Regions from separate parts of the Homo sapiens genome. Here all the other regions are linked to region 2. The links are contacts of gene promoters, found by promoter capture Hi-C in human tissues and cell types (Jung and others, 2019). All regions are on one chromosome and are shown on one strand. Each heading gives the region's core, a stretch centred on a gene start or on the middle of the fragment in contact. The rest is flanking DNA. Distances are from core to core; before and after follow the strand shown.

Region 1 (3,103 bases), core at 576-3,075, 600 kb before region 2:
TCATGTAAAATGAAATACCCATTCTACTCATCCACAGCCTCTACTGTTCAATTTCTACCCAAACTGTACCTTTCAGTAATTTACTGACCTTGGAACTGCTTTCTTCCGATACTTCTCCCTCATTGGTTTGCATGGGAACAGATTTTGTGCAAAACTCTGCAGAAACACAAAAATACTGCCTAAAAGAAGAGAGAAGAAAAAAGTATGTAAGGAATTCAGGGCAAAAAAATTTTTTTTTCAAAGGTTTAGACTGAAATTCTCTCAATAAGGCCACAGATACTGTGAAGTAACTTTGAGTAACTTTGTGTGTGTGTGTGTGTCTATGCACATGCATCTTAAAGGTAAGAAAGGGAGGGAGAGAAGCAGGGAGGGAATGTTTCCCATCTTGGGGGAGAAGGGTAGATAGGAAAGGTTTCCAGCATTGGGATATTAATAGCTCTAGATTTCTTTCCCTATTTTATTTGGCTTTTGGCAGAGGTGGTGGTGAAATTCTTACAGCAGACACTGACCTGCAAGAAAGTATGGCAGTGAGCAAAGCGGCGCACCTGTTGTTCCGCCCCTGCAGGTCACAGTGCCTGGGTATTAGGCTAAGGCTATTGGAATTGGCAGGGTTTCCCGGGCTTATAATTTATGAATAACGTTCCTGCTTTCTTTATAACTGAAATTAAAGTACACTATAATGGCTGGCCCCACTTTTCATTTTTAGGAAATGTGCTTAATAAACTAAATGTCAGTTCATTTATTTTTATATGAGACTATTTATAGGGCAAGACAGTAAAAAGTAATTAAGTTTTCCTCAAAGAATAAAATGAGTCAAGAAAAAGTTTGTTAAAATTTTATGAATTAAAATGTACCAAAAGGAAACTACTAAAAATTTATGCAACATTTTCAAGAATTCATTACATATGTAATTATTGAGGAATATTTTTTTTTTTTTTGAGACACAGTCTTGCTGTGTCGCCCAGGCTGCAGTGCAGTGGTGAGAGTTTGGCTCACTGCAACCTCCACCTCCTGGGTTCAAGCGATGCTCCTGCCTCAGTCTCCCAAGTAGCTGGGACTACAGGCGCCTGCCACCACACCCGGCCGATTTTTGTATTTTTAGTAGAGACAGGGTTTCACTATGTTGGATAGACTGGTCTTGAACTCCTGACCTCGTGATCCGACCGCCTCAGACTCCCAAAGTGCTGGGATTACAGGCGTGAGCCACCGCTCCTGGCCCTATTGAGGAATAATTATTCAAATGACACAAATCTCCATTATAATACAGGTATGAATATTTACAAACCTATCAGCTACTCTAAAGCTCATAGCTACAAAACATAAAAACTAAAAAAGGCCAGGTGCAGTGGCTCATGCCTATAATCCCAGCAATTTGGGAGGCTGAGGCAGGTGGATGGCTTGAGCTAACGCGTTCAAGACCAGCCTGGGGGCGAAACCCCACCTCTACCCAAAATACAAAAATTAGCCAGGCGTGGTGACACATGTATGTGGGCCCAGCTACTTGAGAGGCTGAGGTGGGAGGACTGGTTGAGTCCAGGAGGTCAAGGCTGCAGTGAGCTGTGATCACACCACTGCACTCCAGCCTTGGCAACAGAGTGAGACCCTGTCTCAAAAAAAAAAAAAAAAAAAGGTAAAAAGATGCTGGTAGTGTATGTTTTTTGTGTGTGCAAGAAAAATCTATTAATGCACAACGCTTGATGATCTGTTTTGGTGTAGGCTTCTCTATAACCAGCCAAGACTCAAGGCTAAGAAGGCACTTCCAGGAAGCTGTTGCCTCATCTACTGGGTGGGAAGGGGTTACCAAAATATCTACTTTGCTCACCCACCTAGCAAGGTCTTGTTGGGAACAAATGCATATTTATGTGATGTGAAGTGTAAAATCAGTACAGTAGAAGCTCTCAATTGATATCCATTCACTTGCTCCCAGCTTAATCAACATTGCCCATCCTCTCTGTAAAACACATGAGGGATGCTCACAGCAAGTGAAAATAGGCTTTCTCTAGTTGATTTTGTCCCTCACCTATTTATCACAGTTGTGCAAAAAAAAAAAAAAAAAGTTCTCTTTCTATAAAAATTAGGTTGATAGCATTGGAAAAACTCAATAACTTATCCAGAAAGATTTTATGTGTAATTTGCTTCACAGATGTCTTTAAGTTCTCCTACTTCACTGAAACAGAGACTGCATTTCTCTGTTTCATTATAGGCATAGCTGAACCAGATGATGCATTATAGGCATAGCTGAACCAGAAAAACTCCTTGGAACTCCATTCATGCTTGCAGGCCTGTGCTCAGCACACTCCTTGGTCTGGTGCTGTACTGTCTGCTTCCTCCAGACCCACGCTCCATTCTCCGCCTAACTGTGTGCCCCAGGGGACACCATCATTGGGCTCCTTATCTTCTGGCTGCTGGCTGGGCTAAGCCAGTGGGAGGCACTGACTGGAGACAGGAGGTCGGGAGAGGAAGAAGGGATGGCAGTGGTTGTTTCTTCTATGAAAGGGCACTGCTCTCAACTTGCTGGCTTCTCCTTCAGCTTTAATCTTTTTACTTTCATCCTTTCTGGATTCTCCTATTTGGCTGTTCTATTTTTCTTAAGTCTCTTTCTAGCTTGACTTGCCTGGCTAAATTAGTTTTTTCCTTCTCTGACAATCACTGCTATTTCCCGTTACCGACTCCTCCTCCCTATCCCCCAACACTGCACACTGTCATCTCTCCTCCCCCATGCTATCACCCTCTACCCAAGGCTTTAACCAAGACTTCTGCCCCTCCACTCACTTCTTAAAATCCATCGTGTCCCAATAAGATCCTACCAAGGCCCAAGTCTTACCTTCTCTACTACTACAGCCCTCAGTTTTCCAACATGTTAGAATGGAAATAGGGAAACCAACAAAGGCTACTGAACCACCCAGTGGCTGACAACAATTGGGAACCTTACTATTGCTAGACCTGAAGCGGAAGGGGCAGTGACTGGAACCTGGAGGGGGAGCTGTGGCCGTCACTGAAGAGTCCAACAGACCCGAATGCTTACGGATGTGTGACCTTGAGGGAATTTACTCAATTTGTCTCAGTCTCAGCTTCCCTACCAAAACTTGGGAATAGTAGTTAT
Region 2 (3,582 bases), core at 125-2,624:
GTCTCCTGGACTAGGGGGGCAAAGAGATCACAAGTGTCATCCAACGTGGTCAGAAGGTCATCTGGCATGGTTTCCAGGTCATCTATACCCAACAGGGCATCCAAGTCGAACTCCTTCAAATCCATTTTCTCCAACATCCAATCTGTCCCGGAGAAGGCATCCTCTGCAAAACATTTGAGTGATGGGGCCAAGTGAGTCAGATACAAAGGTAGGAGGCCCCTAACCCTAGATCCCACCAGGACGATGTGGTGGTGGCCCACTCACCCTTGCTGTTGTTGGAGGGACTGACCAACCCATCCACAGCCAGCCATTCGGAGGAGCCCGCCTTAGCCTTGTCGCTGGAGAACCCATGAGGTTTGAAGTGCTTGGCCACCTCCAGGTAATCATCTAAGAGACCTAGGCTTTCTTCAGCCCCCAAACCCGACTGGTCGAAGGGGGACATCAAGTCCCCCACCAACACCTCGCTGCTCAGGAAGCTCATTTCGGTCATGTTGCGGTGCTTTGCTGGAATCGAGGAATGTGCTTAATTCGAAGGTGTCTTTGTCGGTTACAGCAACGCTGCTGCTGAATGCCGTGAGAAGCCTGAATGAGAATCAGAAGCCAACTCCCATTAGAGGTTAGCTGTTCTGAGAATTTCATCCTTCCACTTATGAGGCGGGACTTCTCTAGATCGGCCATCTAGAGAATCGGGAACAGGGCAGTTGTATTTGCCCCTCCCTGCTTGCAACTCAGGTTCCACAAAATGGACGCTCACGGAGACCAGGGGATTCTTCCACCGGCCGCCAAGAGGAAAGCGCTCCGTCCCCACGTCCAAATACGGCCAGGGCGGCCGCGCCCCGCCCACCGCCCGCCCTTGACTCACGCCCGCGCCGCCGCCCTGCCGCCGCCATCTTGGTTCCTGCCACGTTTCGTGGGGCAACAGCCAAGACCCCTGGGACCCTTGCGGGGCTCGGGGTCCGAGGGCTGTAGGGCTCCTGGGGAAGCAGTCCGGGCACCCGACTACGCTTTCCCGATCCCAGGCACGCGAGCGTCTCGGGGACACCCAAGCAAAGACCACGCGTCCCGGGCGCTCGTTAAATCGCTTCCCCCTTGGCGGCACCGCCCTGGCCCCAGGCCGCACCCCACCAATCCAAAACCCGCGCCGGCCCCAGGAGCACAGCTGGACGACCCGCCCCGGTACTCACGCCATGGCTTAAGCCGCTGGGGGTTGCCGCTGCAGAGCCTGGTGCTGCTGCCGCCGCTGCAAAGGCCAATGCTGCCGCAGGCACTGCTGCCCCTAATACGCCATGGTGGCCGTGGACCCTGAGGGCGGGGAGGAGGGAAAACGCACACGCGCAGAGAAAACTACATCTGTGGGCGGGCAAAGTAGAAATGGCTGCCGTGGCCGCCCGCCGGCCCTTTATAGACTTCGTCTCTATGGGGACGCAGCACAGACGCATCCTTCCGCCGCGACCACGTGACCGTCTCCTCCCGCCCGCTCCCTTCCCTCCCTCCCTTTGACGCCCCAACCGTTTATGCCCAGGGCGTAGCTGTGACGAGAAAAGGAGTTTGTTCTTATGGCCTCACGAAAGGAGAGAGGTGTACTACTTTACTAGGCTTCTATGATCAGAGTCCGTTCTTTCCTTCGCCGCCGGAGCGCGGAGTGATCTCCCAGACACGCCTCGCTTCCGGTGTCAGCGCAGTGGGCGGGGAAAGGTCGTTTTCCGGCGAAGAGTTTTTATTGTGAAGGCCGAGGACGCCAGGTTATCGCGCGAGGTGCTGGCGAAGAGCGCGCGTCAAGGTGATTGGCCCAGGCCCGGTGAATCATATATATCTCGAGCTCTTATTGGCTCAGGGCCCTAGATGGGCGGCTGCTGGGAGAGGGATCCCGGGGTCCGCGTGGGAAGGGTTGGGGTCTCGGGTCGCTGCTAGTCCTCAGCCAGCCCCGCCTGCTGGCCCGCCACGATCGCGCTGGCTCCTGCCCCCAGGCGGCCTTAGCCCAGCGCACCCCTTAGTGGCCTCAGGGACCAGCCCTTGCGGTCGGATCCCGCCGCCCTCAGTGGAGGTCCGCACTGGTGGCCCCGCCGCCGCTCCCAGCCTGCGCGTCCTTCGGTTGCGGGTGGTGATTTGTGGCCTGCGGAAACCGGGGGGTTACCTGTTCCAAGCCTGAGTTTTCCAGAGGCCCCATTCATAGCCGACACGGCGCTGCTGCCCCCGGGAGGTTGAAGGGGCCTCGAGAGGGCGCGCCGGGCCTGTCCACCTACCCCCAAAGGCCGGCTGAGTCTGCATGGCTCCTCCTAAACTCTGGAAAGGAGCCGGGAAGACGCGCCGTCCTGTCGCCCAACCTGGGTTTTTACAATTTTCATCCGGCTCAAGTGCAAGGCTGCCACAGAATAGCATCATAGAGGAACTTCTGGTGTCCGAAGATTGCGTTCTCCTAAGAACAAGATTTTCTTCGCTGCCGTCTCCCTGGGGTAGTTCGGATTCACTCCGGATTCTGAACTCCCCGGCCTAACCCGCTTTTCAGCAGTCACGCCCATGGCCCAGGGAGGAGAGGCGCTTGGGAACCCACGGCCACTTACTGGGGGTTGTGCGTTGGGAAGGGGTAGTCTGTTTTAAGAATACAAGAAACCTCCCCATCATCCTTCAGCCCCTTCCAGTCAGGCCCTGTGAAGGTGGAAACTTTGAGTTTCCGCCTCCATTTCACTGGGCCACACAAGTATGAGCGCTGTGATATCAAACAACCAGGGAAGCACTGCTCTAAATAACCACAGGCCATCTGCTGCGCTCATTCAACCTCGCCCACAAATCCTTTCCAATGGTAAACCGAGGCCCAATGGGATGAAGCTTCTTGCTCAAAGTCACAAGGCTCCCAGTGGAGGGAGTATGGGGTAGGAGTTAGAAGACAGATTTTGGGGAGCGCATCCAAAAGAATCCTGGCTGGGACATTTTGGCTAAATGACTTATACTCTCTGAGCCTCAGTTTCCTCATTTGTAAAATGAGACTACTGATGAGTATCCTTGCCTCATGAAGTGAGATCATACATGTAAAGCACTTAGCACAGTGCCTGCCTGGTACATGTAAGCGCCCAATAATGGTTGCTGTTGCTGCCACTGTTCATAGAACTCAGGTCTCCTGACCCTGACTTCTGCCACTCTCCATCACATCCTCCTGCTGCCTCAGAGGACTCTTCATTATTATTTAATGAGATGAAACCAACAACTTTAAAACTGGTATACACAAGGCATACTGGATGCTGGAATAAAAGTATGTTTTTTCTTTCTCCTTGGGGAATCGTGAGTGTTGAGATATACAGAAGTTGGCGCCAGGAGCAGTGGCTCCAGCCTGTAGCCCCACCTACTCAAGCCGAGGTGGGAGGATTGCTTGAGCCCAGGAATTCCAAGCTGCAGTGAGCTGTGATCACAACACTGCAACTCAGCCTGGGCAACAGAGCAAGACCCTGTCTTTAAAAAAAAAAAAAATACAGGAGTTTTCTAGCCTTTCCATGCAAAGGCAGTAAGAATACCTGAGCCATTAGCCATGTCTTCCAAAGGCAGAACTAGGGACCCACAGGACGTGTTCTCCTTTTGCTATAGACAGTA
Region 3 (3,298 bases), core at 497-2,996, 910 kb before region 2:
ATGTAAGAAGTGGGGAATCCTGGATAGTGCCCAGGTAGGTTGGGGAGGTAACTTGTACTGGTTTTTCTTTGATGTTATTTGTTAAATCTAGAGCTCCCCCTTCTGTTAGAAGATGGGATCTCAGTAGTACTTTTAAGACTGTAGTTTCTTTTTTATCTTAAGATTCACAAAAAATTTTTAAAAATAAATACCACTGGGACAATTGAAGCTTTCTTCTGGGACTGCTGTTGCTGAGGCCCAGCCCCCCGCTGGGGGTGGAGAGGAAGGAGGAAGAAGCACAACGGCCCAGGCAGGATAGGGTCCTATCTATGCTCTCTTGCTACTTTTAGCAGCTCCTTAACCCTGCACTCCTACCGCAGCCAGCAGCCTAGCAAAAGTTATCTCTGCTCGCAGTTTCACAGCTCTTTGGAAATTCTAGGGCAGGAGAAGTGAAACTGACCACAGTCTTATAAATTTCTCTCTTATTGCCTCTGTTCCCTACTTGAAGTGAGTCAGGCCTTTCCCTCTCATCCTCAGAGTGTCTTAAGTTGCTATTTGTCCTTACAGCCAAGTTTTTGACAAAAGGAGTCAGACCTTCCATTCATGGTGCAGCCTTTCTGGAGGCTCTTGGTTTGGTCTTGCCACCTGAGTGTTGTTTGCAGAAGTCGAGACTTGTGGTCTTTGTGTGGTATCCCCAGAATAGAGCTGAGCCCTTCGTCTCAGCTGTCGGTTGTGTGTGTTCCTTCACATACAATTGCCATGGGGTTCTTTTAGTCCTTAGAGATGAAATTCAAGTTAATTTTAGCAGCACTATAAATAACAGGTGCAGTGAAGAAGGAAATAGTGCCGAGTGGACATATATCTTTTTGGTTTTAACTGTCCCATTGAAACAGTTTGGCCACTTTATGATTCCTCGTGAGGTTGAGGAAGTAAGGTTAATTTGGCATGCATCTGTGCCCCTTCCTGTGTGCAGGTGTCCTGAGAATAATGTGAGGCCTAGCAGGCGTTCTTGGAGTCCTAGCTGAAGGGGGATTTGCGGCTGACGGTCCAGTCATGGGCCAGGGTGTTTGTTAAAGTTACATTCCATGGGTGCACTTTATATAGCCCAAGCTTAGGCAGTGACAGTTCCCATTAGGAGTCATATTTTGGTTTCTACCAAAACTGTTTGAATGGGGTAGCTAAACCATAAAGATACATGCTTACTCAGGTGTCATTGCCTTCACTTCAACTGATATTTATAGTACTACTAACAGTAATGTGATTTTTTTTTTTTTTTTTTGGGGGACGGTTTCTCGCTCTGTTGCCCAGGCTAGAGTGCAGTGGCGCAATCTCGGCTTACTGCAAGCTCTGCCTCCCAGGTTCACGCCATTCTCCTGCCTCAGCCTCCCTTGTAGCTGGGACTTCAGGCGCCCACCACCACCACGCCTGGCTAATTTTTTGTATTTTTAGTAGAGACAGGGTTTCACCATGTTAGCCAGGATGGTCTCGATCTCCTGACCTCGTGATCTGCCTGCCTCAGCCTCCCAAAGTGTTGGGATTACAGGCGTGAGCCACCACGCCCAGCCAGTAACATGAATTTAAGATGCCTTCTCCACTGAATATCGTAGCACTAGACATGATGCTTCGCTTGAAGGTAATCTTTACGGTTCTTCTCTCAACAGCTTTGAAAAGTCCAGCCGCATTTCATGAGCAGAGAAGGAGCTTGGAGCGGGCCAGGGTAAGGTACCTTTTTTCCCCCTCAGAACTCCCAAAGAGCATTTTCAGAGCTCATTGCATTGCTGGTTATATTTCCATTTAGAGCTTTCCATAGAACTCTGAGGCCAGAGCCTGCTAGACTCTAGGGCCAGCCCTGGCCTTGTGGTTTTAAATGGAAAGCTCTGCTTCTCCTACTTCATCCCTTCTCTCATTTACCTCCCATGGTGATTATATGGAACATGATTGGAATGAGGTTTCTCTTTTTGTACATTTAAGGATATGGAATGATCACCCGATCCTCCTTGCCTGAATTTTGGAGTGCTTTGGAGACCACTGGTATTTCCCCATCTTTAATTCCACTTAACGTTTTGTAGATGTTGGGACACAAACATTAGCCAATGGAAAAGCTTCCCAAGTCCGGGGTTACACTGGCCACACCTCACAGGACGGGCATTCCAAGGGGCAGGAAACCTTCTTGGTCTCCATCTGCCCAGAGTAGGTGGTATCCACTTGACTCTTGTGGAAAGCAGAAACTGGCCCACACTCCAAGCCCAAGTTTTCTGCCACAGCACCTTACTTGCGTCCCCATCCCAACTCTGTTTCGGTTCCCCAGGGGCCCCTGAGGAATATTCTGCTGCCCAGTGTGGGTAGAGATGGGGAAGTCACCAGAACTTGCTTCCCCCTCACACTCCCTTTACTTTTTCCTTTCACATAAAATCATGGGAAGATAATCCCCCTAGACAGATCATGGGCTGCATCTCCTTAAGACCCACGGCTATTTTATTTTACTTTATTTTTTGAGACGGAGTCTCACTCTGTCACCCAGGCTGGAGTGCAGTGGCGTGATCTCAGTTCACCGCAGCCTCCGCCTACCAGATTCAAGCGATTCTCCTGCCTCAGCCTCCCAAGTAACTGGACCTACAGGCTCCCGCCACCACGCCTGGGTAATTTTTGTATTTTTAGTAGAGATGGGGTTTCACCATGTTGGCCAGCCTGGTCTCAAACTCTTGGCCTCAAGTGATCTGCCTGCCTTGCCCTTCCAAAGTCCTGGGATTACAGGCATGAGCCACCACACCCAGCCTCACAGCTATTTTAGAGTCTCAGAAATATTTACCTCCAAGACTTTTTTTTTTTTTTTTTAAACTTTCTTTCATTCCCCTCTCCCCAGAAAATCATGATTAATTCTTAGAGTAAGTGGAAAGAATGAGGTCATGGGTCCTGGGAACCAAAGGAGTAACAAGCAGCAGTGGTTTAGTTTGCTGAGAGCACTGGAGAGTACAGTGTTGGGGGAAAGGATGGCGTTGCCTGTGCGCCTATTCGGTCAGAAGACTGGGCACCATTTACTTGACTGCTTCTCAAATAGGCAGGGACCAGCAGAGCTGATTAGAAGAGACTGTTTTATTGAGCACCTTTATGTAAGAGGTTGTATCTGTTTCTTTTTTATCCTCACATCAACTCTTATGAATTAGGTGGTATTATCCTCATTTTATAGATGCAGCTAAGAGAAGTTAACTCACTTGTCCAGCCAATAAGTGGCAAAGCTGGGAGTCAAACCTTTGTGGATTCTAGATTTTTTTTGAGCAAAATGATTTTATTTCCTAACACATGGTAACCATAACGTTCA
Region 4 (3,259 bases), core at 537-3,036, 730 kb after region 2:
AGGGTCATGTTGACTATGGTACAGAGGATAAATTAGAGAGGTGCAAGACTGCAGCCAGGGAGTCCCACCAGGAGATTGCACTCAGGTAGATGGGATTGTGGTGTTGTGCACATGGAGGGTGCCATGAACGTGGCCAGAAAGGCTGTATCAGGAAATAGTGAGGAGTCGAAATTGGCATGCTTGTGACTGGAAGTGGGCTGTTGTAGTGGGAAGGGTGAAGGACTCCCCCCTGTTTTCTGATGGAGGCAACTGGGTCGGGGGTGGTGCCATTTACTGGAATGGGGAATGCAGGAAGAGCAGATTGGAGGGAGATGATCAATTCAGTTTGGGACACACTGAGTTTGAAGGGCTTGTGGAACATTCTGGTGCACATGGCTAGGAGGCAGTTGAATATGCTACCCAAGCATTCAGGGATCAGAGGTTTTAAAGATAATTTTGTGGGTAGGGGCTTGGCAAGCGAGGAGTGTTGATTGATTAAGTCGAAGATGGAATACTGAGGGGGTCGAAGTGAGGTTTTCTTGCTGTCTTCTGTTCCTGGGTGGGATCACAGAACTGTTTGAGCCACATTACTGGTCTGGGTGGTGTCAGCTGATCCATCGAGCGCAGGGTCTGCAAAATATCTCAAGCGCTGATCTTAGGTTTTACAATAGTGATGTTATCCCCAGGAGCAATTTGGGAAGGTTCAGACTCTTGCAGCCAGAGGCTGCTGTGTGACCCCTAAACCATAATTTCTAATGTTGTAGCTAATTTGTTAGTCCTACAAAGGCAGACTGGTCCCAAGGCAGGAAGGGAGCCTTTTTGGGAAAGGGCTATTGTCAATTTTGTTTCAGAGTAAAACTATAAACTAAATTCCTTCCCAAGGTTCGTTCAGCCTATGCCTAGGAATGAACAAAGACAGCTTAAAGGCTAGAAAGGCAAGATGGAGTGGGTTAGGTCTGATCTCTTTCACTGTCATAATTTCCTCAGTTATAATTTTGGCAAAGACAGCTTCAATGCTAGTAAATGTGGCAGTGGGGTTTCACCCCAAGTACTCATCACAATAATAAAGGTTTAAACTACGAAGTACCCAACTGACCCTTTGATCTACCAATCAAATAATAGAATCCGCCAGTTCTTCCCCTTTCCCCTTTTCCTTCTCCGTACTTTCGGATTAATTTTCCCTCCCAAGGGGAAGAAAAGGCAGGCTCTGGGCAACTGTGTCTGAAATTAGGTGGTACAAATGTCTCCTAGTGACTAGAGCTAGGTGACCATACAAGGGTGTGGCACAGAGGAAGGAGCCCCTGGGTTCCTTCTCCAGGGAGATTACCTCCATCCTTTACCAAGTTACTTAACCTCTCTGAACTTTAGTTCAGATGGGATGACGAATATTATCACCTAAAAGTACTGTAATGAGAATCAAGTGAGATATTAATTGTACAGCCCTACAAAAATGCTAGTTATTATCAGGCTTTTCAGATCCCAATAAAGTAGTGGCTAAGTGTCACGACACCAACAAGTTGCATTTGTTATTTCAAGTGACTAAAAGAACCTCCCAAGGCAGTACTGCTTTTCGAAGTTTGTTTCCCTAGAAAAAGAACTTCAATGTGTCCCCTGCTCCTCGGGCACGCTTAAGACAACTATAAGTGAAGTCCCGCCTCCCTGGCCTCTAAACCACGCCCCTGTCCTTGCAAACGCCTGACTTATAAGGGCCTTTCACTCTGATTGATACTTTTATCCACCAATAATAAGTGAAATTCTCGTCAACGTCCGGTGAGGGGGCAGGACTTCCTTGCTGGTTGCTAAGACACTCTTGTTTCGCTCCTTGACAACCCTGGCGGGGGTTCGCTGGCTGCGGCCCCGGCTCCGGCCCCCGCAGGAGCAGGTGAGGCCCCGGGGCGCGGCGGGCAGCCAGGCGGGGAGGGCCGGCCCGGAGGGAGGGCGGGAGGCAACGCAGGGCGGAAGAGGCCTCGCCCGCCGCCGAGGCCCCACCTCGGTCTCCTGCCTGCTGTTCCCCTGCCCCAGGTCTTCCCATCCTCAACCCCCACCCTCACCCCCACTTCGGGACCTGCGAGCTCTGTCGTGACAGGTTTGCCATCGCGACTCTGCCGGCTGCTCTTCCCCACCCACCCAAGGCCTGCCCAGCTTCGTGGTCCCGCGTCCCCCTTTAGCCGACTTCCCCCAGCACCTTGATCCCTCGACCTTTCGCGGAGTAATTCCCTCTCCCGCGGGGTCGCCATCAACTAGGTCAGACCGCTCTTGGCTTGGAGAGTTGGCGACTTACTGGGATTCTGGGCTGGTCATTTCCCCTGTTTGGGCCTCAGTTTCCCCATCTGTAAATGAGAAGTTGAGTTGAGTGATCTCTAAGGCCTCTTCCACTCTGACGTTCTAGGATGTCGTTGTTCTTTGACCCAACTTTAGGCTTCCGAGAGGATGTGCTCCCCAATGGGAGGTATCGTGTATTGTGAAAATAACTTGGCAAACCTAATTTGGATTCCCAGTCTCAAGACCTACCCTCCCTGCGCTTTTAATCAGTGCATATGTAAAATCAGTATACGTCGGTGCATCTCCTTTGGTAATTCTGAGGCTAATATGAAGTACAGAGTCCAGTCCAGTATAGATTCAGTATTTGTTAGTTTCTTTCCTTTGTCTCTTCACCACATTTTCCCTCTCTGGGAAATGTTATCAACCCGGTCAGCATGAACTGTCATTTCTCCAGTTGACCCTCTCTGATCTTCCTCCTGGGCTTCCATGGTTAGGGTTACTTAGGGGTGGGGAGGGGACAGATGGAGATTGAAATACAGTCATGTACCATATAACAACGTTTTGGTCAAGAAAGACCACAGATACCACGGTGGTGCCCTAAGGTTATAATGGAGCTGACAAATTTCTATCACCTAGTTACATAGCTATCGTAATGTCAAAGCAAAATGCATGACTCACGTGTGTGGTGATGCTGGTGTAAGCAAACCTACAGTGCTGCCAGTCATATAAAATATAGCACATACAATTGTGTACAGGACATCATACTTGATAATGGTAATAAATGACTGTTACTTGTTTATGTGTTTACTATCCTACACTTTTATTGTTATTTTACAGTGTACACTCCTCCTACTTATAAGAAAATAAAATTTAACCGTAAACAGTCTTAGATAGGTCCTTCAGGAGGTATTCAAGCAAAAGGCTTTGTTATCATAGGAGATGACAGCTCCATGCGTGTTATTGCCCTGAAGACCGTCCAGCGGGACAAGATGTGGTAGTGGAAGATAGTGACACTAAG

Evidence for each region. The method cuts DNA at HindIII sites, captures the fragments that hold promoters and counts their contacts. A contact is called where the count stands out against the background at its distance.
Region 1: a contact is called between a fragment that was not itself captured here and the fragment with the promoter of ATF4 in region 2, in 1 of the 25 tissues and cell types used here (lymphoblastoid cells).
Region 3: a fragment that was not itself captured here is called in contact with the fragment with the promoter of ATF4 in region 2 in 1 of the 25 tissues and cell types used here (lymphoblastoid cells).
Region 4: the fragment with the promoter of DNAL4 here is called in contact with the fragment with the promoter of ATF4 in region 2 in 1 of the 25 tissues and cell types used here (spleen).

What each region holds. Positions count from the first base shown.
Region 1 is chr22:40,122,848-40,125,950 of GRCh38, reverse strand. It overlaps a transcript of TNRC6B not described here. Among named protein-coding and RNA genes, the nearest start is that of TNRC6B, 54 kb to the left of the region's middle. The HindIII fragment of the contact is 5,757 bases long and covers 1-3,103 here.
Region 2 is chr22:39,518,354-39,521,935 of GRCh38, reverse strand. It overlaps ATF4 (activating transcription factor 4), which reads right to left and starts at 1,374. Exons shown (of 3, transcript NM_182810.3): 1 at 1,185-1,374; 2 at 265-582; 3 at 1-163. The coding sequence starts at 490. RefSeq lists enhancers at 897-946, 1,307-1,456 and a silencer at 1,837-2,036. The HindIII fragment of the contact is 4,198 bases long and covers 1-3,582 here.
Region 3 is chr22:40,433,897-40,437,194 of GRCh38, reverse strand. MRTFA (myocardin related transcription factor A) reads left to right here. Exons shown (of 15, transcript NM_020831.6): 5 at 1,641-1,696. Among named protein-coding and RNA genes, the nearest start is that of SGSM3, 65 kb to the right of the region's middle. RefSeq lists enhancers at 165-214, 285-334, 455-584, 845-904. The HindIII fragment of the contact is 3,423 bases long and covers 35-3,298 here.
Region 4 is chr22:38,792,670-38,795,928 of GRCh38, reverse strand. It overlaps DNAL4 (dynein axonemal light chain 4), which reads left to right and starts at 1,786. Exons shown (of 4, transcript NM_005740.3): 1 at 1,786-1,861. RefSeq lists a silencer at 1,595-2,044. The HindIII fragment of the contact is 13,707 bases long and covers 1-3,259 here.